3 separate regions of the Homo sapiens genome follow, and regions 1 and 2 are each linked to region 3. The links are contacts of gene promoters, found by promoter capture Hi-C in human tissues and cell types (Jung and others, 2019). All regions are on one chromosome and are shown on one strand. The core of a region is centred on a gene start or on the middle of the fragment in contact, and the rest is flanking DNA. Distances in the headings are between cores, read along the strand shown.

What was found. The method cuts DNA at HindIII sites, captures the fragments that hold promoters and counts their contacts. A contact is called where the count stands out against the background at its distance.
Region 1: the fragment with the promoter of FBXW8 here is called in contact with the fragment with the promoter of RNFT2 in region 3 in 4 of the 25 tissues and cell types used here (adrenal gland, aorta, heart left ventricle and 1 more).
Region 2: a fragment that was not itself captured here is called in contact with the fragment with the promoter of RNFT2 in region 3 in 3 of the 25 tissues and cell types used here (H1 embryonic stem cells, dorsolateral prefrontal cortex and liver).

The regions. Positions count from the first base shown.
Region 1 is chr12:116,909,273-116,912,276 of GRCh38, reverse strand. FBXW8 (F-box and WD repeat domain containing 8) reads right to left here and starts at 1,327. Exons shown (of 11, transcript NM_153348.3): 1 at 922-1,327. The coding sequence starts at 1,239. RefSeq lists silencers at 860-1,119, 1,280-1,499. The HindIII fragment of the contact is 14,688 bases long and covers 1-3,004 here.
Region 2 is chr12:116,945,814-116,949,308 of GRCh38, reverse strand. All of the region lies in intron 3 of FBXW8 (F-box and WD repeat domain containing 8), which reads right to left. Among named protein-coding and RNA genes, the nearest start is that of FBXW8, 37 kb to the right of the region's middle. The HindIII fragment of the contact is 5,462 bases long and covers 1-3,495 here.
Region 3 is chr12:116,736,824-116,740,301 of GRCh38, reverse strand. RNFT2 (ring finger protein, transmembrane 2) reads right to left here and starts at 1,987. Exons shown (of 11, transcript NM_001382266.1): 1 at 1,932-1,987. It overlaps SPRING1 (SREBF pathway regulator in golgi 1), which reads left to right and starts at 2,233. Exons shown (of 5, transcript NM_024738.4): 1 at 2,233-2,512. The coding sequence starts at 2,402. RefSeq lists enhancers at 1,705-1,964, 2,733-3,478 and silencers at 2,155-2,414, 2,495-2,544. The HindIII fragment of the contact is 23,901 bases long and covers 1-3,478 here.

The sequences.
Region 1 (3,004 bases), core at 78-2,577, 170 kb before region 3:
GTTTGAGGCTGCAGTGGGCCGGGAGAGCAACAGTACACTCTAGCCTGGGCAACAGAGCAAGACCCTGTCTCAGAAAAGAAAGAAAGAAAGAAAAAAAAAAAAAAACAGGAAAAAAAAAAGTGGGTTCCCAATTGTAAAGCTGTAGGGACTTCCTTTGGGCCTAATTTAAATCAAACCATTAGAACCTGGAGCCTTGTCCTCTTAACCTGGGAGCCACGGATGCATTTCAGGTGTTCTTGATTTTCCCAACTTTCTGAAGGGGATTATTTTTAACGGACACAGGGTCCCCAGCTTCCTCCAGATTCTCCAAGGTATCCACGCCCCACAAAAAGATAAGAAACTCTATCCTAATGAAAGTGCCCAGGAGATTCTTCCTCCTCTTCTTCCTTTTTTTCTGAGATAATTTTTTTGAATACGTGCACGGTTACAAAAATTAAATAGTGCAAACAGTATACAAAGGTAAAATTACTTCCTATCCATCATCTGGGTCCTCCTTTTCAAAGGCAACCTTTGTTCAAAGTTTAGGTAGCCTTCAAGAGCAGGATTTCTCAACCCCACACTTACTGATATTTTGTCCTGGATAATTTTTTTGTGCGTGGTGTCCTGTACACTGTAGGATGTTCAGGAGCATCTCTGGCCTCTACCCACTAGATGCCCAGTAACATGCACACATACACACCCCGATGAGGCACCCAAAAATGTCTGCAGACACTGCCACATCTGGGGGAACAAAATCGCCCTGGTTGGGAAGTGCTGCTTCCAGAAAGACCCCTATGCAAGCACAAACATTGGTGTTTGTGCGTCTACTCATTTTCTCGGGCAACTAGTGGCACACAGTTACTCTCCAAATCACTGCAGGGGTTTGTCCTGGGGGCGGGGGCCGGCGCAGGCATGGGCGGGGGGGAGGCGACGGCCACTCACCAGGTCGCGGATGAGCTGGTCCACCAGCTGCTCCCCGCCCCCGGCGCCCTCGCGGGCCAGAGGAGAACGTGAGCGGCTCGCTACGTCCTGCCCCTCGGCCCGAGTCGCCCGCGCCGCCGGGGGCCTCCCCGCGCCCTCCAGGAGACGCTGGGCCAGCGCCGGGTCCCCCGAGGCCTGTTCGCCGCGCCCGGAGCCCACCTCCGGCCGCCGAGCCCGCCTCTCGGCAGCCTCGGGCCGTCGCCGCTTCTTCGGCGCCTGGGCCTGCGCCAGCTCCTCCTGCCAGCGCCGACGGAACTCATCCAGGCTGTAGTCGTCCATATTCGCCGCTCCCGGCGCTCCACGTTCTCCTCGGTTCCACCGGGTGCCACGAGACAGTCCCGCCCAGGGAAGTGTCCGCCGCGGCCGGAAGCCGCTGCCGCCGCCGCTCTAGGGTTCCGGGTGGGCGTCCACGCCCCCGCCACGCCCCCGGCGCTGCCCCTGTACGCACGTGGTGGTCCGGCTTGTGGCTTGTGGCGCCCAAAGCAGAGGTTTACGCAGCTGCCCCTCAGCCCGTCAGCTCTGCTGCCTATCACTTTTGCTAAGCTCTGACTTTGCGCCAAGCATTGTTCCTTCATTCAACAAACATTCATTCAGCAACTACTATATGCCAGGCACCAAGAATTCAGCATTTAAATCTGTAAAACAAAACAAAAACTCTGACGTCTTGGAGCATGCGTTTAAGTAGGGAGACTTTAAACAAAGAAATATGAACATTTAAATCAGTGATAGGTATTAGGAAGAAAACAAAATAAGGTAAGGTAAGGGGAGTAAGGATTGATAGTGAAAGTCTGTTTAAGATGTTATTTAAATTAAAATCTAAAAGAGAATCAACAGGTGGATAAAGAAACTGATATATACATATGGTGGAATACTACTCAGCCATAAAAAAGGAATGAATTCATGGCATTCGTAGCAACCTGGATGGGATTGGAGACTATTATTCTAAGTGAAGTAACTCAGGAATGGAAAACCAAACATCGTATGTTCTCACATATAAGTGGGAGCTAAGCTACGAGGATGCAAAAGCATAAGAATGACTTATGGGACTTTGGAACAGGGGAGGGGGACGAGGGGAGGGTGGGAAGGTGGGGAGGGATAAAAGACTATAACTTGGGTTCAGTGTATACTGCTCGGGTGATGCGTGCACCAAAATCTCACAAATCACCACTAAAGAACTTACTCATGTAACCAAATACCACCTGTTCCCAATAACCTGTGGAAATAAAAATTTTTTTTTAAAAATCTGAAAGAGAAACCAGCCAAGGGAAGGTCAGATCTTAGGAGAGAGATTTCCAGAAGGAAATCCAAGGGCTTTAAGATGGGAAAGAAAATGACATACGATGGCGTTCCACTTAAAAATGTTTTCTTTGCACCTGATATTCCCTCAGCAGGGAACTTTTCCCCCCACCTTGACTTGGTTAACTCCTACACATCTTTCATATCTCAACTCACATTTCACTTAATCTTCCAACCTCCACTCAAGAAACATCAGGTATCCCTGTTACTCATTCTCACAGCATCCTGTACTTCTCATCATAATACATAACACAATTTGTAATTTTATTTTTATGTATATATATATATCCCTTCCCTTCTAGATTGGCAACTCTTAGCTTTGAGACTGGTGATTAATACATGCTCAATAAATGGTTTTTTGTTTGTTTGTTTGTTTGGTTTGTTTTGTTTTTGAGACGGAGTCTCGCTCTGTTGCCCAGGCTGGAGTGCAGTGGCGCGATCTCGGCTCGCTGGAAGCTCCGCCTCCCGGGTTCACGCCATTCTCCTGCCTCAGCCTCCTGAGTAGCTAGGACTACAGGTGCCCGCCACCACACCTGGCTAAGTTTTTGTATTTTTAGTAGAGATAGGGTTTCACCATGTTGGCCAGACTAGTCTTGAACTCCTGACCTCAAGTGATCCACCCACCTCAGCCTCCCAAAGTGCTGGGGTTACAGGTGTGAGCCACCACTCCAGGCTCAAAGATGCTCTTGCAATTAACTGTCCCTTATTCCTTGTCTAACTCTTCTTAGTCTCTCAGGCCTCTTCTCTA
Region 2 (3,495 bases), core at 637-3,136, 210 kb before region 3:
ATAGGCTGGCATGTATCTGCTGGGAGTGGCAAGTATCTAAAGAAACTTATAAAGTATGTGAAAAAGTTCCGTTCAGCAAAAAGAAAGTATTACATGATACCTTACCTGTTAATTCTTATAAGGACTCTCAGAATAAAATGCAAAATTATATACAAATAGATAAAGATCAGGATGAGGAAAAGGAGATGAGATGATACTATTTCTAACTGAGAGGCCAGAGGTTTCATGGAAATGGTATTTGAATGACAGTCTAGGCCAGGCACAGTGGCTCATGCCTGTAATCCCAGCACTTTGGGAGGCAGAGGCAGGAAGATCACTTGAGCTCAGAAGTTTTGAGACCAGCCTGTGCAACACAGGGAGACCCCATCTCTGCAAAAAATTTAAAAGACAGTCAGGTGTGGTGGCATGCACCTGTAGTCCCAACTATTTGAGAGGATGAGGCAGGAGGATCACTTGAGTCCAGGAACTTAAGGCTACAGTGAGTTATGATTGCAACACTGTACTTCAGCCTGGGCAAGAGAGTGAGAACCTATCTCTAAAAAAATAAAAAATTAAATTGAATTAAAATGAAGGGAATCTGAATGCACATAAAGTATTTACATGTGGGAGGTTGGGAAAAGTGAGATAGGCCACAAAGCAAGCATGAATAAAGGTATTCAAGAATACCATAATTTCAACTTTACCAGACTGGGACAAAGACTAGAAACAGTGTAAGTGCCCAGCACAGTTCTTAACATACAGCAAGTGTTCAATAAGTGGTAGCCATTATTATTATTATTTCTATTATTAGGAAAAAGATGACATCATTCCATTAAAATACACATTTATTAAGTACCTAGACTCTAGAAACTGAGCAAAGTAATTTGCATGATGGTCTTAACTTAATCCAAGGAATGAGTCTAAGGCTGAGAGATAAAACTAGACACATCCACGTGGAGCTGTCCTACAAGTGGAGATATGGGGAGGGAAGGCAAGGATCTGGGAGTCAGCTGTGTGAAGGCCGCAACCAAGGTTACAATAACAGAAAATCTCTTGTGAGGGAAAAAGTATTGAAAGAAAAATAGAGGGCCTAAGATGAAAACCTGCATTTATGCAAACACTAGGAAAAAAAACACTATGGCCACCACAATTAGTTTAGCAAATCATTTCCAGGTTGGCTCTGAAATGCAATTCCAGATAACTTCATGCATTTGCAGGCCATTCTCTTTGTGGAGGTACCTGAGAACCCTGGGGTCCCTTCTAGGGTCTCCCCAGACACTGACTTAAGAGGTACCAAACCAAATCGCCTGCCTAACCCATCCTGAAGTCGAGCACGCACAGCACAGAACCCTGCATCTGTGTGCAGAGGCCTATGCTCTCCTACAGCCAACCTCGCCTGAGCACTGAGCGTGGACCAGGCTCTGCAGGAGTGGCAGACACTTGATGACGATCATCCTCACCATGACGCCATGAGCAGTGCCACTCCTAGCCCCTACTCTAGAGATGAGAAAATGGAGGCAGACAAAAGTAAAGCAACTTGCCCCAACACTGCCTTTCATTTCTTTCTTTCTTTTCTTTTTTTTTTTTTTTTTTGAGACAGTCTCGCTCTGTCGCCCAGGCTGGAGTGCAATGGCGCAATCTTGGCTCACTGCAACCTCCACCTCCAGGGTTCAGGCGATTCTCCAATCTCAGCCTCCCAGTAGCTGGGACTACAGGTGTGTGCCACCACGCCCGGCTAATTTTCGTATTTTTAGTAGAGATGGGGTTTCACCATATTGGCCATGGAACTCCTAACCTCAAGTGATCCATCCGCCTCAGCCTCCCAAAGTGCTGGGATTACAGGAGTGACCCACGGTGCCGGGCCGCCTTTCATGTTTTGATAAGGCTTTCTTTCATTCCAGAATTTTGGTAAGAATCCCACCATTACATTTAATGAAAGATACATCATTTAAAATTTCACTCCTAGAATTCTCCTTGTTAACACTGTCAGGAAATGGACCTTACACGCTCCAAATAGAAGTCTCCCTCATGTTTGGTTCAGCCTGCAGTCCGCTCCAGTTCACTCAATCAACAGCCATGTAGTGAGTACTTACCTAACACATGACTTCCTGTTCATTAGAAATAAATACTAAATAGACATTCAGCTAGATTGTATATAACTTGTAAAGTGTTACTAAGTGCCAAATGCTAGGTGATGGGTCTTTAAAATATCGTCACTTCTGCCACCTCCAGGCCCAACAAGGACATACCTGTCCTCTTCCCTTGCTTTCTCTATCACCAAAGAGGAAGCAAAAAACACAGCTGCTGCTTTTCTCTACCACGGTCTGACATCTTCGAATTCAAGCCTGGGGATGCCAAATATCTCCAACTCTCCTGCTTGTAAATCTCAAAAGTATCTCTCCTTTCTGGAGAGAAAGGACCCCGTTAACATTCAGCTCTCAAGCTTTCCTTAAATCGCAGCCCCTCCCACCAGGGTTAGACCCTCTGCTTTCTGACCCCTTGTTTATCTGGGCAGCTTTCTTTGTCATACCTTTCTGCCTGTGTGCATCACATGGACCTACCCAGGCACACGGGCAAGAGGGACTGGGGGCTCCCTCCAGACGAGTTTATTACCGTAGGTGGATGGAAAAGGGCACTGTGGGGCCAGCGTGACCTGTCTTAGTGGTGGTGTCTTAACAGCCTAAGAAAGGATAGCCACACTAACTCTCAGAACAGTGGTTCTCGACTGGGAGGGGATTTTGATTCCCAGGGGACATCCAGCAATGTCTAGGGGCATTTCTAGTTGTCATGACTTGGGGGAGGAAGAGAATGCTACTGGCGTCTAATGGGGAGAGGCCAGAGATACTGCTCAACAGCCTGCAATGCACAGGACAGCCCCGCACAAAACGAATTAGCTGGCCCCAAATGTCACTAGTGCTGGGGTTGAGAACCCCTGAACTAGAGAGACACTGCTCTTATTGACTTTGCTAGAAACCGTGTGAGGTTGCCCAGATCAAGCGTATTGGTCACTAATCAGGTTAGGAGGTGAGTAGGGACAGACAGGCACATAGGCAATTTGTCATTATCAGTAATGCACAAAAGCTTGTTAATCTCAAAGTCTATTAGGATTGACCTTTATGGGAGTAAAGAGAATGGTTCCATCCCTTCTCTACCATTGAATCTCCAGCCTCCCAGGTGAGAAAGAAACACTGCCACCACACTGCTGTCTCGTCATGCCTCAAACAGCTTTATGTAACACGGCTCTTGACAGTTATCTCCTATGGAAACACTTCACTGTGCAAATTCTTAGCTGTGATCTAATATTTCCGTAGAGACTTTGAAGTGATAAATGTTATGGAAGCACGCCAATAGGTTATGTGAGGGAAGAGAAGACAGTGCTTAGAGATGTTTAATCATCTCCCTCTTACATTTACTAGAAATGACATTTTCAGCTCCTCTTTTGTATGCAGGTAGTGCTTTTGCTTTCTGGGTCCCTCCAGAGAGTCGGTGAAAGTCAAAGGGGCTGCACAGAGCACT
Region 3 (3,478 bases), core at 738-3,237:
TTGAATCTGCTAAGAAGCCTTAGGACATTGTTGGTAGCTATAAGCAGATGATTCCATCTGCTCAGTATCTCTGGGTAGCCTCTCAGTGATCCCCCCTTGAAACTCCTTTTTTTTTTTTAAGACGGAGTGGTGCGATCTTGGCTCACTGCAACCTCTGCCTCCCAGGTTCAAGCGATTCTCCTGCCTCAGCCTCCTGAGTGGCTGAAATTACAGGCTTACAGGCATGCGACACCACGCCCACCCAATTTTTGTATTTTTAGTAGAGATGGGATTTCACCATATTGGCCAGGCTGGTCTCAAACTTCTGACCTCAAGTGATCCGCCTGCCTTGGCCTCCCAAAGTGCTGGGATTACAGGCATAAGCCACCATGCCCGGCCCTCTTTGAAACTCTTAAGGTATTGTATTTCATCCTATTGTCAAACTAAGAGTCCTGATTGGGGAAGCCAGAAAATATGTTTTAAACCCTCCAACGGCTGCCCAGTGCAATCAGAATCAAACCCGAGCTCTGTCCATAGCCTACGGGTTCTTCCTGATGTAGCATCATCTGTTTCCAACTGCATTTCCTCCCATTCTCCCTTTTCCCACTCCTGTCCACCCACAGTGGCCCTTCTGTTCCTCTAATGTGTCAGCGTGTCCCTGCCTCAGGGCCTTTGCACTTGCTGTGCCCTCCCCTTGGAATACTTTCTCCTCTAAATGTGGCAGGGCTTGGTCCCGCAGGGCAAATGTCGTCTCTTCCCAGAGGCCTTCTCTTCTCATTCTCCTGACTCCCCGTAATATTGCCCTGTTTTATATTATTCATAGCACTTATTTGTTCATGTTTGCTTATTTATTTATGATTTGTCCTCCCCATTAGAATATAAATGCCATTCCTGAAAGTAGGGATCCTGTCTACTTGGATCACCCCTCTGCCTCAGCATCCAGGACACTGTTTGGCACAGAGTGGCGCTCAACAAGTATTTACTCAATGAATAAAACATCTATGGGTCTCCCAGTTCCCCTTTTCTAGATCCCTTGCTCCCTGTCCCACCTTTCACCCTAGCAAGGTAATAAGGGCCATCTACTTCCCATGAAAAGGTTTAGCCTCCGTGAATATCTTCTTGTCTCTGGAGGCAGAGCCAATATTGTGGATATAGGGTGTCTATATCAGTCAGATGGTGTCTGACTTCAGTTTAGGGCACGATTATTGGCTGTTGAATGACTTCCTAATCCTGACCAGGCTTCTTGAGGGGGCAGCAATGGTGTCACTAGGGCCACTGATTAAAAATGACCCGCCAGTGAAGCCTCCTTTCTCTTTTGAAAAATTAGGTAACAAACCGGTCAGCAGCAGCATCTTCATATATCAAGAAAAGGTCATTATATAAATATTTTTCAAGAATTTGCAATCTCAACTTAATCCTCCTCTCGCCCCTCCCTCCATTATCCCACATTGCAAATCCTTGGGGGAAAATAAAATTCATATTCCAAAGTTCTCATCCACACATTTAACTCCTAAATCGAATGCTCGAAACTCTACTTTCGGATGCTTGTATTGGAAGAGGCTTCGGATTCTTTGTCGGAAGCAGGCCGTACATAATTCTGGAATAAATTTTTGCACGCGGGATGCATCTGAATGAATGAAACGCTTTTTAATCCTCTGCTCTGTACATCCCACTATGTCCCTTTGAAGGACCGCACCGAGACTTTTCGATGCTTGCGATGGTTCAAGTTGCGCCCCTGGGGCCCGTTACAGGACTGCACCGAAATGCACTCAGAGGAGCATCGCCTGCATCACTTGGACTGGAAGCCGGCAGGTGCACTTCGGGAACAACGTCGCGAGCGCTTTTCATCCCTGCAACCAACACACAGCGCAAAACGCTCTGGGACTGCAAGGGCAGGAGACTACACAGACCATGATGGGAGAAAAGAAAAAAAAATCGCGTTCTCTTTTTACCTGCCCAGACAATTCAGCAATCACAGCCGCATCATTCAGGTCCAGCCAAGCCAATCACCCGCGCAGCCTGGGCAGCATGTGACTTCCGATGCTTCCGGCCTCCTATTGGGTGGTTTCTTGGCGTCGCCGGGTCCGGCGCTAGGACCCGGGCACAGCTACGCCCGCAGCACTCACGCGATTGTCCGCCCCCTTTCCCGGCACTTAACCAATAGGAGGCCGCCGTTCCTTAGGGACCAATGGTGAGAAGATCTTGCGCGACTAGCCCTTGTCGCTGCGGAGCGGAGGCGGGGCGTAGGGCGGGGTCACGTGGGGCTGCGCCCAAGGCTGCCGGGAGCAGACTGGGCTGCGGGCGGCGGGGCCGGCGCCTGCCTGGAGGGATGGGGCTGCCGGGCGCGTAGGGGCCATGCCGCCCGGGACCCGGGCCTGCCGCGTTCCGCGCCCCGGCCGCCGCGCCCCACGTCCGCGCCGGGATGGTGAACCTGGCGGCCATGGTGTGGCGCCGGCTTCTGCGGAAGAGGTGGGTGCTCGCCCTGGTCTTCGGGCTGTCGCTCGTCTACTTCCTCAGCAGCACCTTCAAGCAGGTCAGTGGCCGCCCTTCCCCTCCTCCCCTTCCCTTCTTCCTTCCTTCCTCCCCCTTACTTTACTTTCTCCTTCCTTCCTTCGTTACCTTCCTCCTTTTTTCCTTCCTCCCTGTCTTCCTACCCCTTCCCTTCCTTTCTTTCTCCCCTTCCCTTCCTTCCTCCTTCCTTCCCTTCTTCCTACCTCCCCTCCTTCCTTATCTTCCTCCTTCCTTCCCCTCTCCCTGCCTCCCTTCCTTCCTTACCTTCCTCACCTTCCTCCTCCTTCCTTCCTCCCCCTTTCCTTCCTCCCCCTTCCCTTTCTTCTTTCCTCCCCTTTTTCCTCTCCCTTCCCTTCCGTCTTTCTTCCTTCCCTTCCTCCTTCCGTCCTCCTCCTTTCTGTCCCCCTCTCCCTTCCTTCTTCCTTTACTCCCTTTCTTCCCTGACATCCTCTTTCCTCACTTCGTTCTTCCTCCTTCCTTCCCTTCCTCCTCTTTTTCCTTACTCCTCGCGTTTGTCCGACCTCCCGACTTCTGCAGCGGCGCCGCCGGGGCGTCCGAGGGTGGGGAGAGGTGCGCATTCCTGTCCCGGTCTCAGCACGGGTGAGGGACCTGCCCACCGCCTTGGTCCCTGCAGCGGGAAGGGGTTGCTAGGCCAGGGCAGAGCTGGGACTAGAACCCCGAGTTGAGGACCCTTCAGCGGTGGGGACTGCTTTTATGAACACCTCCCTGCTTTTCACCTGCCCGGTCCAGAGCTAAGAGAGGGCGTGCATTTGCTGGCTTCATCTTCGCAGCAGGCCTGGGAGAAGTGGGGTTCCCAGTATTACAGTGGGGGAAACCAAGACATAGGTGGCGAGGGTCGGCCAGCCCTCGCATGGGTGCCCTTCGTTTAATTTGGGGGCTCTGTGTCCTCCTGGGTGACTCAAAAGGACCCACAGTTCCTTTTATGCTTTTTGTGCATAACTTGATTGGTAGAATTCCACCCCTCCAA